2 separate regions of the Homo sapiens genome follow, and region 2 is linked to region 1. The links are contacts of gene promoters, found by promoter capture Hi-C in blood cells and fetal thymus (Javierre and others, 2016). All regions are on one chromosome and are shown on one strand. Each heading gives the region's core, a stretch centred on a gene start or on the middle of the fragment in contact. The rest is flanking DNA. Distances are from core to core; before and after follow the strand shown. Region 1 holds the start of ANXA2R (annexin A2 receptor). Region 2 holds the start of C5orf34 (chromosome 5 open reading frame 34).

The links. Contacts are between HindIII fragments. The CHiCAGO score rates a contact against its expected background, and 5 or more counts as called.
Region 2: the fragment with the promoter of C5orf34 here is called in contact with the fragment with the promoter of ANXA2R in region 1 in 2 of 17 cell types (neutrophils and M2 macrophages); the score reaches 6.3 in neutrophils.

The regions. Positions count from the first base shown.
Region 1 is chr5:43,038,307-43,042,433 of GRCh38, reverse strand. ANXA2R (annexin A2 receptor) reads left to right here and starts at 2,115. Exons shown (of 1, transcript NM_001014279.3): 1 at 2,115-3,063. The coding sequence starts at 2,388. The coding sequence ends at 2,969. The region is part of intron 2 of ANXA2R-OT1 (ANXA2R overlapping transcript 1); the gene reads left to right. It overlaps ANXA2R-AS1 (ANXA2R antisense RNA 1), which reads right to left and starts at 300. Exons shown (of 2, transcript NR_015447.1): 1 at 1-300. RefSeq lists enhancers at 1-256, 2,462-2,511, 2,522-2,931, 2,952-3,001, 2,693-3,233 and 1 more and a silencer at 1,852-2,121. The HindIII fragment of the contact is 14,499 bases long and covers 1-4,127 here.
Region 2 is chr5:43,513,469-43,517,595 of GRCh38, reverse strand. C5orf34 (chromosome 5 open reading frame 34) reads left to right here and starts at 2,448. Exons shown (of 13, transcript NM_198566.4): 1 at 2,448-2,790. It overlaps LOC124900190 (a long non-coding RNA gene), which reads right to left. Exons shown (of 3, transcript XR_007058764.1): 2 at 1-3,403. RefSeq lists an enhancer at 2,681-2,840. The HindIII fragment of the contact is 8,167 bases long and covers 1-4,127 here.

The DNA.
Region 1 (4,127 bases), core at 866-3,365:
GGCACCGCTGGTTGCGCCAAAACAAATGTTGTCCTTGACAACCCCGCCGGCTGCATTCCCTTTCAGGCTCCTGGCACCGCCATTTCGGCGAGCCGTGGTCTCTTGTTCACAGCTCTGTGCCTCCATTTCTCGGTGGCGGCAGCCCTCAGGCCGCGGATCTGAGAGATTTAAAGTCGCAGCTGCCCCCGTTGCGCCGAGTCTGGCGTTGCCGGATGGGTGCTGCAGGGCTGGGCGGGGGGAGCCCGACGCTCCTTGGAGCCGGTGACAGGGGAGCTGCAGGGGCACAGTCTCTTCCCAGCGCCGCCGCACGGGTTCCGGCTCGGCCTCCAGAACGCAGTCCTGTGGCGGCGCCGCCGGCGTCTCTGTCGCAGGACCCCACGGTTTCGCGCGTCGTTGGCTTCTTAGTCCTAGCAAGTTTCGATTTCGCGGTGCCTGGGATTTCCACCCTCTGTCCAAGTAGGGGAATAGCCAAAATGTATTTTCTCAGCCCAAGCAAGTCCTGACTTAAGACAAACACCGGTCTAGCCCTGGCTGCGATATCTAGGCCGTAGGAACTCACCCGTTTCCCCATGCGAAGGCGAAGTTACCCTGTGACTCGTTGGTCAGCAGCTCCGGGTTTCCAGTGGCCTCGGATTTCTAATCATAACAACCATGGGGTCAGCCTAGCCTCAAGTTTCTTAGTCCTAGCAAGTTCCGGTTTCCTACTGGTAAGACTTGCTTTAGCTGCGCAGGAAATGTTTAACTCCTGTGGAAATCTGGGTACCAGCGAATGCTTTTTTTTTTTTTTTAAAGGTTTAGCGATGACCAGTTTAGCAGTGTTGGGAGCTCTTATACCAAGTTTGGTTTCGCAATATCGAGTCCTGTCTTAGCTATGCTTGTGTGTTTTTAAAACTCCCGTGGAAGTCAGGAAATGCCGGCGATCGCGATGTCTCAGTTTTACCAAGCTCCCTTTGACAATAGCAAGTCCTGCCCATCGAGACTTTTTCCTCTTGTAGACCAAATCGGGATGTACCAGCTACTACGATTTTTTAGACGTAGCTAAACACGTTTAACCGTGGATATTTTTGTTTTTTTTCTCGTAGGAAATTATGACAGGAGCAACCTGCAGGGGTTTAGATCTGACAGAAATATTCTAATGGTAGGCATTGCATCGCTTAGCCATATTTGTAATTTCTTCTTTGTAGGGTTGGTTCTCTGTAACTTTTGCTTACCTTAAAATTATTTTTGTGTCTTGCTCTGAGGACAATGTTACCGATGTGTTTTTCATTTTTACTTGCATTTCAGACTTTCATTATTTTAAATTATGTATTTTTTTTTTCTTCTAATTTTGAGCGTCTCAGATTCGTGCTTCTTGACTTTCATTCTCTCAGGAGCCGGGGAGCCGAGCTCGGTCTTAGCCTCGCTGGTATCAGGTTCCGGGTTCTGTCTGGAGGCTCCGCTTCCTATGCAGAGCTGGCGGTTTTGTATCAGCACGTTTGCCAGTGGCGCCCACTGGGCGTTTTCTCAGTTGCTGCACCCAACGTGACATTTCCCGTTCGCGGGGTCCTTAGGTTCTCAGTGCTGTCACTTTTTCGCTCCTACAACCGCTAGTATCTCCTAGGAACTTCCTGAACCCCGTTTTGCCGTGCAGAACGGTGATTGCACCGAGCCGCTGTTCGCACTAGTAATTGTGTGGTACCATTAGCCGGCGCTTTTTCTGTCACAACCCATTAAAACGGGTTAAAACATATTAAACCTATCAAACACATTGAACGGATTAAAACACATTAAATGCCGCAACACATTTTTCTGGTACAACACATTGAAACAGAGTTGGTTCATTCCTCCAAACAGGTTGTTTAGGTGTGGAAGCACCGCTCTTAGTTCTAAGAGCATGCTGTTTCTCTTTAGCAGCACCCTTTACGGCGCCAAAACGGATATTTGTTTGGCAATACCAGCGCTATCCGCTAGGTGCCGGCGCTTGCTAAGTTCAACGCGCCAGTTTCTCGTTTGCAAGGTGGTTAGGGCAGAGCCCTAGCAGACAGTTTTCCGGTGGCAGCAACGCTCATTTCCCGGAAACGGGTGGTTCTTGGCCCTTGCGCGCTCTTGAATACCTGCGTTCTGTAGCGCTAGTTCTCTTCAAGATTTGCTTAGTGTCATTTCATTTCGGTTTCTTTTCTCGCCATGTTTTTCTGTCGGAATTACGGTTCGTTTTGGTTCTATGTACTCTCTAAAATGTTATCGTTTTTCATTTGTCTACTAATTTTCGTGCATTTGTTACTACTGAGTTTCTTAATATCTGACTGGCCTCCGCCCACGGGCTCTGCAGAGCATAAATACTCAGGCTGATGGTAGTGCAGAGACTCTCCCTCCTTGATCAGCGCAAACGTTGGTCTGAGGCTTGAGGGATGGAGCAACATTTTCTTGGCTGTGTGAAGCGGGCTTGGGATTCCGCAGAGGTGGCGCCAGAGCCCCAGCCTCCACCTATTGTGAGTTCAGAAGATCGTGGGCCGTGGCCTCTTCCTTTGTATCCAGTACTAGGAGAGTACTCACTGGACAGCTGTGATTTGGGACTGCTTTCCAGCCCTTGCTGGCGGCTGCCCGGAGTCTACTGGCAAAACGGACTCTCTCCTGGAGTCCAGAGCACCTTGGAACCAAGTACAGCGAAGCCCACTGAGTTCAGTTGGCCGGGGACACAGAAGCAGCAAGAGGCACCCGTAGAAGAGGTGGGGCAGGCAGAGGAACCCGACAGACTCAGGCTCCAGCAGCTTCCCTGGAGCAGTCCTCTCCATCCCTGGGACAGACAGCAGGACACCGAGGTCTGTGACAGCGGGTGCCTTTTGGAACGCCGCCATCCTCCTGCCCTCCAGCCGTGGCGCCACCTCCCGGGTTTCTCAGACTGCCTGGAGTGGATTCTTCGCGTTGGTTTTGCCGCGTTCTCTGTACTCTGGGCGTGCTGTTCACGGATCTGTGGAGCTAAGCAGCCTTAGATAGCAGCAGAAGGCTTTTTGGATTCTCCTCCTTGAAAAGATTCTCAGTTACCAAACGTCTCCACCTAGAAAATAAAAATACATTAAGATGTGCTTTCATTGCTGGTTGTCAGTTTTTAAATTCTCTTTTTCCCTTATGTTTCTTTCTTGTTTCGCGTCGCTTATTACTTTCAGTTTCCTTGTATTTTAAATATTTGTATTTATTTCATTAAATATTTCATTCGTATCTGTTTTCACTTTGAGAAATCTATTTTACGATTGTAGAATTCTTAGAGTTTTTGGCAAATTTAAAATTTGTTTTTTTCCATTGTATTTTAAAATCTTATTCCTACTATTTTTCTAATTATTGCTTTTTAAATGTATTGTTTGTTTACATTTAATTTTATATCATGTCTTTTACGTTATTATAACGTCTTTTTAATTTTAATTGTTAATTTTATTTTTAACAGCGGTCTTTCTTTTTTTCAGTATATCGATTCATTGTTTTACACTCAGGAATTTTATTCACGATCATAAGACTGAGAGGTTTATCAATCTTTGCTATTTCTCGTGGAAGGACCACGCAATTACTTATATTAATACAACTTCACAGATGACCAGTTCTTAAGATTACTTATTCTGGCGGGGCAGCGTGGCTCACGGCAGTAATCCCAGCACTTTCAGCAGCGGAGGCATGCGGATTGCTTGAGCTCAGGAGTTTGAGAAAAGCCTGGGCGACAGGGTGAGGCCTGTGTCTACAAAAAATGCAAAAGTTAGCCCTGTGAGATGGTGTGCACCTGTAGTCCCAGCTGCTCCGGAGGCTGGGGTGGGCGGGTTGCTTGAGCTCAGGAGGTCGAGGCTGCGGTGAGCCGGATAGCACCAACGCCCTCCAGCAGAGCGAGAGCCTGTCTCAAAATAAATAAATAATTGAAAAGACTACTTATTCATGGGTCTCAGGGCTAGCAGTGTTTCCAGCGTCTTTTTCTTTGGAACAGTTTAGCTTGGCTTATAAGAGAACTACCAGTTACTTAATGGTACCACAACTGGGTTTAGCAATTCGGGTAGGCACAGCAGGTCCGGCTTGGCCCTGCCTGCTTTGACTGCCTTTTCGGGAGTTTTAAACCTCCTACACTCGGAATGTAGCCCTGATTGTGGTTTCTCTGCATAGCAAGTTCGGAC
Region 2 (4,127 bases), core at 1,199-3,698, 470 kb before region 1:
CTCCCTCACCTTTCTCAGCCTTCATAGAATCGAAGAGAGTTAGGGCTTTGTTCTGGATTAGGCTTTGGTTTAAGGGAATGTTGTAGCTGGTTTGATCTTCTATCCAGACCATTCAAACTTCCTCCCTGTCAGTAATAAGGCTGTTTTGGTTTTTCTTATTATTCATGTGTTCACTGGAGTAGTACTTTTAATTTCCTTTAAGAATTTTTTCTTTGTATTCACAACTTGGCTGTTTGACACAAGAGGCTTAGCTTTCAGCCTATCTTAGCTTTCAACATGCCTTCCTTACAGGCTTAATCATGCATTTCTAGGTTATGATTTAAAGTGAGAGACATACAACCCTCTTTTACTTGGACACTTAGAAGCCACTGTAGGGGTATTACTTTGCCTAATTTTGATATTGTTGTGTCTCAAGGAATAGGAAGGCTCTAGGAGAGGGTGAGAGATGAGAGTGGCCAGTGAATACAGCAGCCAGACACACACAATATATATCAATCGACTTGTTACTAGTGGAAGAGATCTGAGTTACCCCAAGTTACCAGCAGCCTATCCTTGCAGGTCCATAGCAACTTCAGTCCTGGCCTCCTCAGAGAAGAAAGAATTTGACTGACAGACATAAAGCAGAAAAGAGACTGAAGCAAGTTCCAGAGTAGGAATGGAGGTTTATTTAAACAGGCATTAGAACAGGAAAGAAAGGAAGGTACGCATGGAAGAGACCCAAGTGGGCATGTGAAGGTTAAAGAGAGAAGGCCAGCCGGGTGCAGTGGCTCACGCCTATAATCCCAGAACTTTGGGAGGCTGAAGCAGGTGGATCATGAGGTCAGGAGTTCAAGACCAGCCTGGCCAAGATGGTGAAACCCTGTCTCTACTAAAAATACAAAAAAATTAGCCGGGTATGGTGGTGGGCGCCTGTAATCCCAGCTACTCGGGGAGGGGGCTGAGGCAGAGAATTGCTTGAACCCGGGAGGCGGAGATTGCAGTGAGCTGAAATCGCGCCACTGCACTGCAGCCTGGGCGACAGAGTGAGACTCCGTCTCAAAAAAAAAAGAAAAAGAAAAGGAGAGAGAGAGAGAGAAGGTCAAGTGCCGCATTTAACCATGATCTTAGGATGGGCTCCCTGCATGCTCAGAGCCCTCTTTACCCTTGGGAAGTGAGCACACACAGTGATTTTATGGATTTATACACATGCCCATCTGAGGCTTTCTTCCTTTTTCCGGTGGAGTGTATCAGAAAAATCATACTTCATCACTTTTGTCTCTTAACCGGCATGCCCAGGAAGTTGCTTCTCTCTGGGGCCTGCATTCAATTAACATTTTGATGTTAACAGGTGTGGGCCATCAGGAAATGGCCTTTCCCTGGCGCTGCCAAATTTTCATTTTTAGAGAGGCCATGTGATAATTGCTGAACCATCACCCAACATTTCTAGTGGGTGGGTGGCAGGGGAGAGCCCTCTCCTGCCTTGCTCATGCCTAACTACCTGTAACAGATTCAGTTCGCCATTTTATAATGTATGAGCATGATCTGTGGTCCCCCAAAACAATTACAGTAGTGACATCAAAGATCAGTGATCACACAGATCACTCTAACAGATACAAAAATAATGAAAAAGTTTGAAATATTGTGGGAATTACCAAAATATGTCAGAGACACAAAGTGAGCACATGATGTTGGAAAAACATGGCACCCATACACTTGCTCCATCAAGGTTGCCTCAAACCTTCCATTTGTAGTAAACTCAGTATCTGCAAAGCACAATAAAATGCACAATAAAACAAGGTATGCCTCTCTATGCTCTCACAAACCTCTGTATTTTATCTTAGAAACACTCACAACTGTAATAAATGATTGTTTATTCTTTCTTTCCAGTTAATCTCTAGCTCTGATCCTCACCCGCAAAGAACTGGGCCACCTTCCCTGCTTTATCCCCACTATGCCTAAACACACAGTGAGTGTTCCATAAACACTTGTTTAGTGGCAATAAATATAGCAGACACATTTATTTGCCACTTTATAAGGAAAAAAGGTGCAGATACATAGACGACCTATTTTCTGATACCAAATTAGGAAGAGTTCTCCATCTTTGGCCAAGTTTTTTTTTTTCTAAACAGCTTTACTGAAGTATAATCGTTTTTTACCTTATTTAAAAATAAGTACCACTCCACTAAAACGCGCTCTGTGGTTAGTTCTCGGCTGGACCGTTCAAAAGGCTGATCCTTACAGCCTTTATTATTAATACAACCAGGTCGGGACTGCTTTTGCGTGGGTCACCAGAAGTAAAAAATCAAAGAGGAGCCAACCCCATTCCGAACAAGGAAACACCCGTCCCCTTCCTACACCAATTCCTGCTCCGCCCTTCGTAGGGAACGCAGCGAGGGCAGCCTCCGGAGTGGAGGGGCGGGACTTCCGGCCCTTCCTGTTGTGGAGGGGCGGGACTTCCTGTCTTCCCTGTTGCGGAGCTCTGAAGCGGCTCCCTGAGGGCGCTGGTTTTGAACTGGTCTTGTGCGGTTTGCGCTTTCTCTTAGTGGTTACAGTTGGCGCTGTCTCCGCTTTCCTGTTTCGTGGCGGGCATCTTGGCCAAAACACTCTCCCTGCCACCTTATTCCTCTAGGGTTGTGATTTTTTTCTTTCACCAAGAAATATCACTCGCTGGTAATTTGTCAAACTGAAGAAACCCCTGAAGAAGCAGTGGTGGGCAGGCGCCGACGCTGCGGCTTCCAGAGCATTTTGGCAAATCAAAGCCAGGGACCGTTGCTGGGCCTCATTTCCGCAACTTTTCGGCTCCGAACTGCTGTGAGTGGAAGACTTTTGGTGGTTGTTTTGATCAGGCTCCTTCTGTAACTAGAGACTATAGCATTTTGAAAGAAATGAGATTCTCATTCATGTCAAGAACAGACTTGTGGATTTTTGAGTGTTAAACATACCCTGACGTAATGTGCTGGGTGATGAGAACGCAAGCGGGAATGAGACTGTAGAGATGAGAATGGCAGTGTGGGTTGGAGCCGGGTTATGGTTTCCTATGGTATGCCAAGAACCTTAGTCATTACACTGTTTGTTGTGTATGCTTGATTATTTAAAATTAGAAAACCGCCTCAGTAAAGCTATTAAAAAAAAGACCTGACCAAAGATAGACTATTTTTCCCAAATTGGAATCAGAAAATGTCTTCCATCTATGTATCAGCACCCGTTTTTTCCCCTAAAATACCAAGTAGACATACCCGATATATACGTGTGTGTTTATATATATATCTGTAATCTATATTGCCATTTGATAAGTACGTAAACAGGTGATGTAAAGCACTTGGTATGGTGTGACTTGTGGAAAGTTACCTATGTCATCAATACTAGAGATGGATTGGAGAGAGAAGAAATTCCAGACAGTTGCAGGAGTTGGAGAGTCTATGGCCTGAAAAAGAGAAAGAGGTAGAGAGAGTCAGGTTCCAAAGACAGAAAATCAACAGGACTTGTTACAGGGGCATGGAGTGGAAAGTCAAGTTTTAGAATATTGGCTGCTAACAATGAGACACCATTAATTCAAATTGCAAATTCAAGAGGAGCAGTTTACTTATTTTTCATCATTCAAATATTTATTGTGCCATTTACTATTTGCCTAATACTGTTTTAGATGCCAGAGATACTGTTACATATAAGACAGATAAGGCCCCTGCTTCGGTTGACTTTATATCCTAGTGGGAGAAAATAAAAAGCAAGTAAATAATCAATTTTGATGATAGATTCTATGAAGAAAAAACTTGAAGAGGGATGACAAATGATTGGGAGATGTTTGGGAGTAACTTTAACTTAGTTGGTCGTTGGGCCCTTGTAGGAGTTACATTTGTGCTGAAACCTTGATGATGATAAAGAACCAGCCTTGTGATTAGCCAAGGAAAAGACAAGGCAGGCAGAAAGAACTGCAAAGATGGGAAAGAGCTTGTTTAAAGAACATTTAAAATGCCAATGTATCTAAAGTGCCCTGTAGAAGTAGGAGAGAGTTGAGAAATGACATTGGGAGAGGTAGATAGGACCAGACTGTGTGGCCTTTGTAGGCCATAGTTTAGGAGTTTGGATTTTAAGTAGAAATGGAAGGTACTGGTGGGTTTTAAGCCACGAAGTGATAGATGTGATTTTCA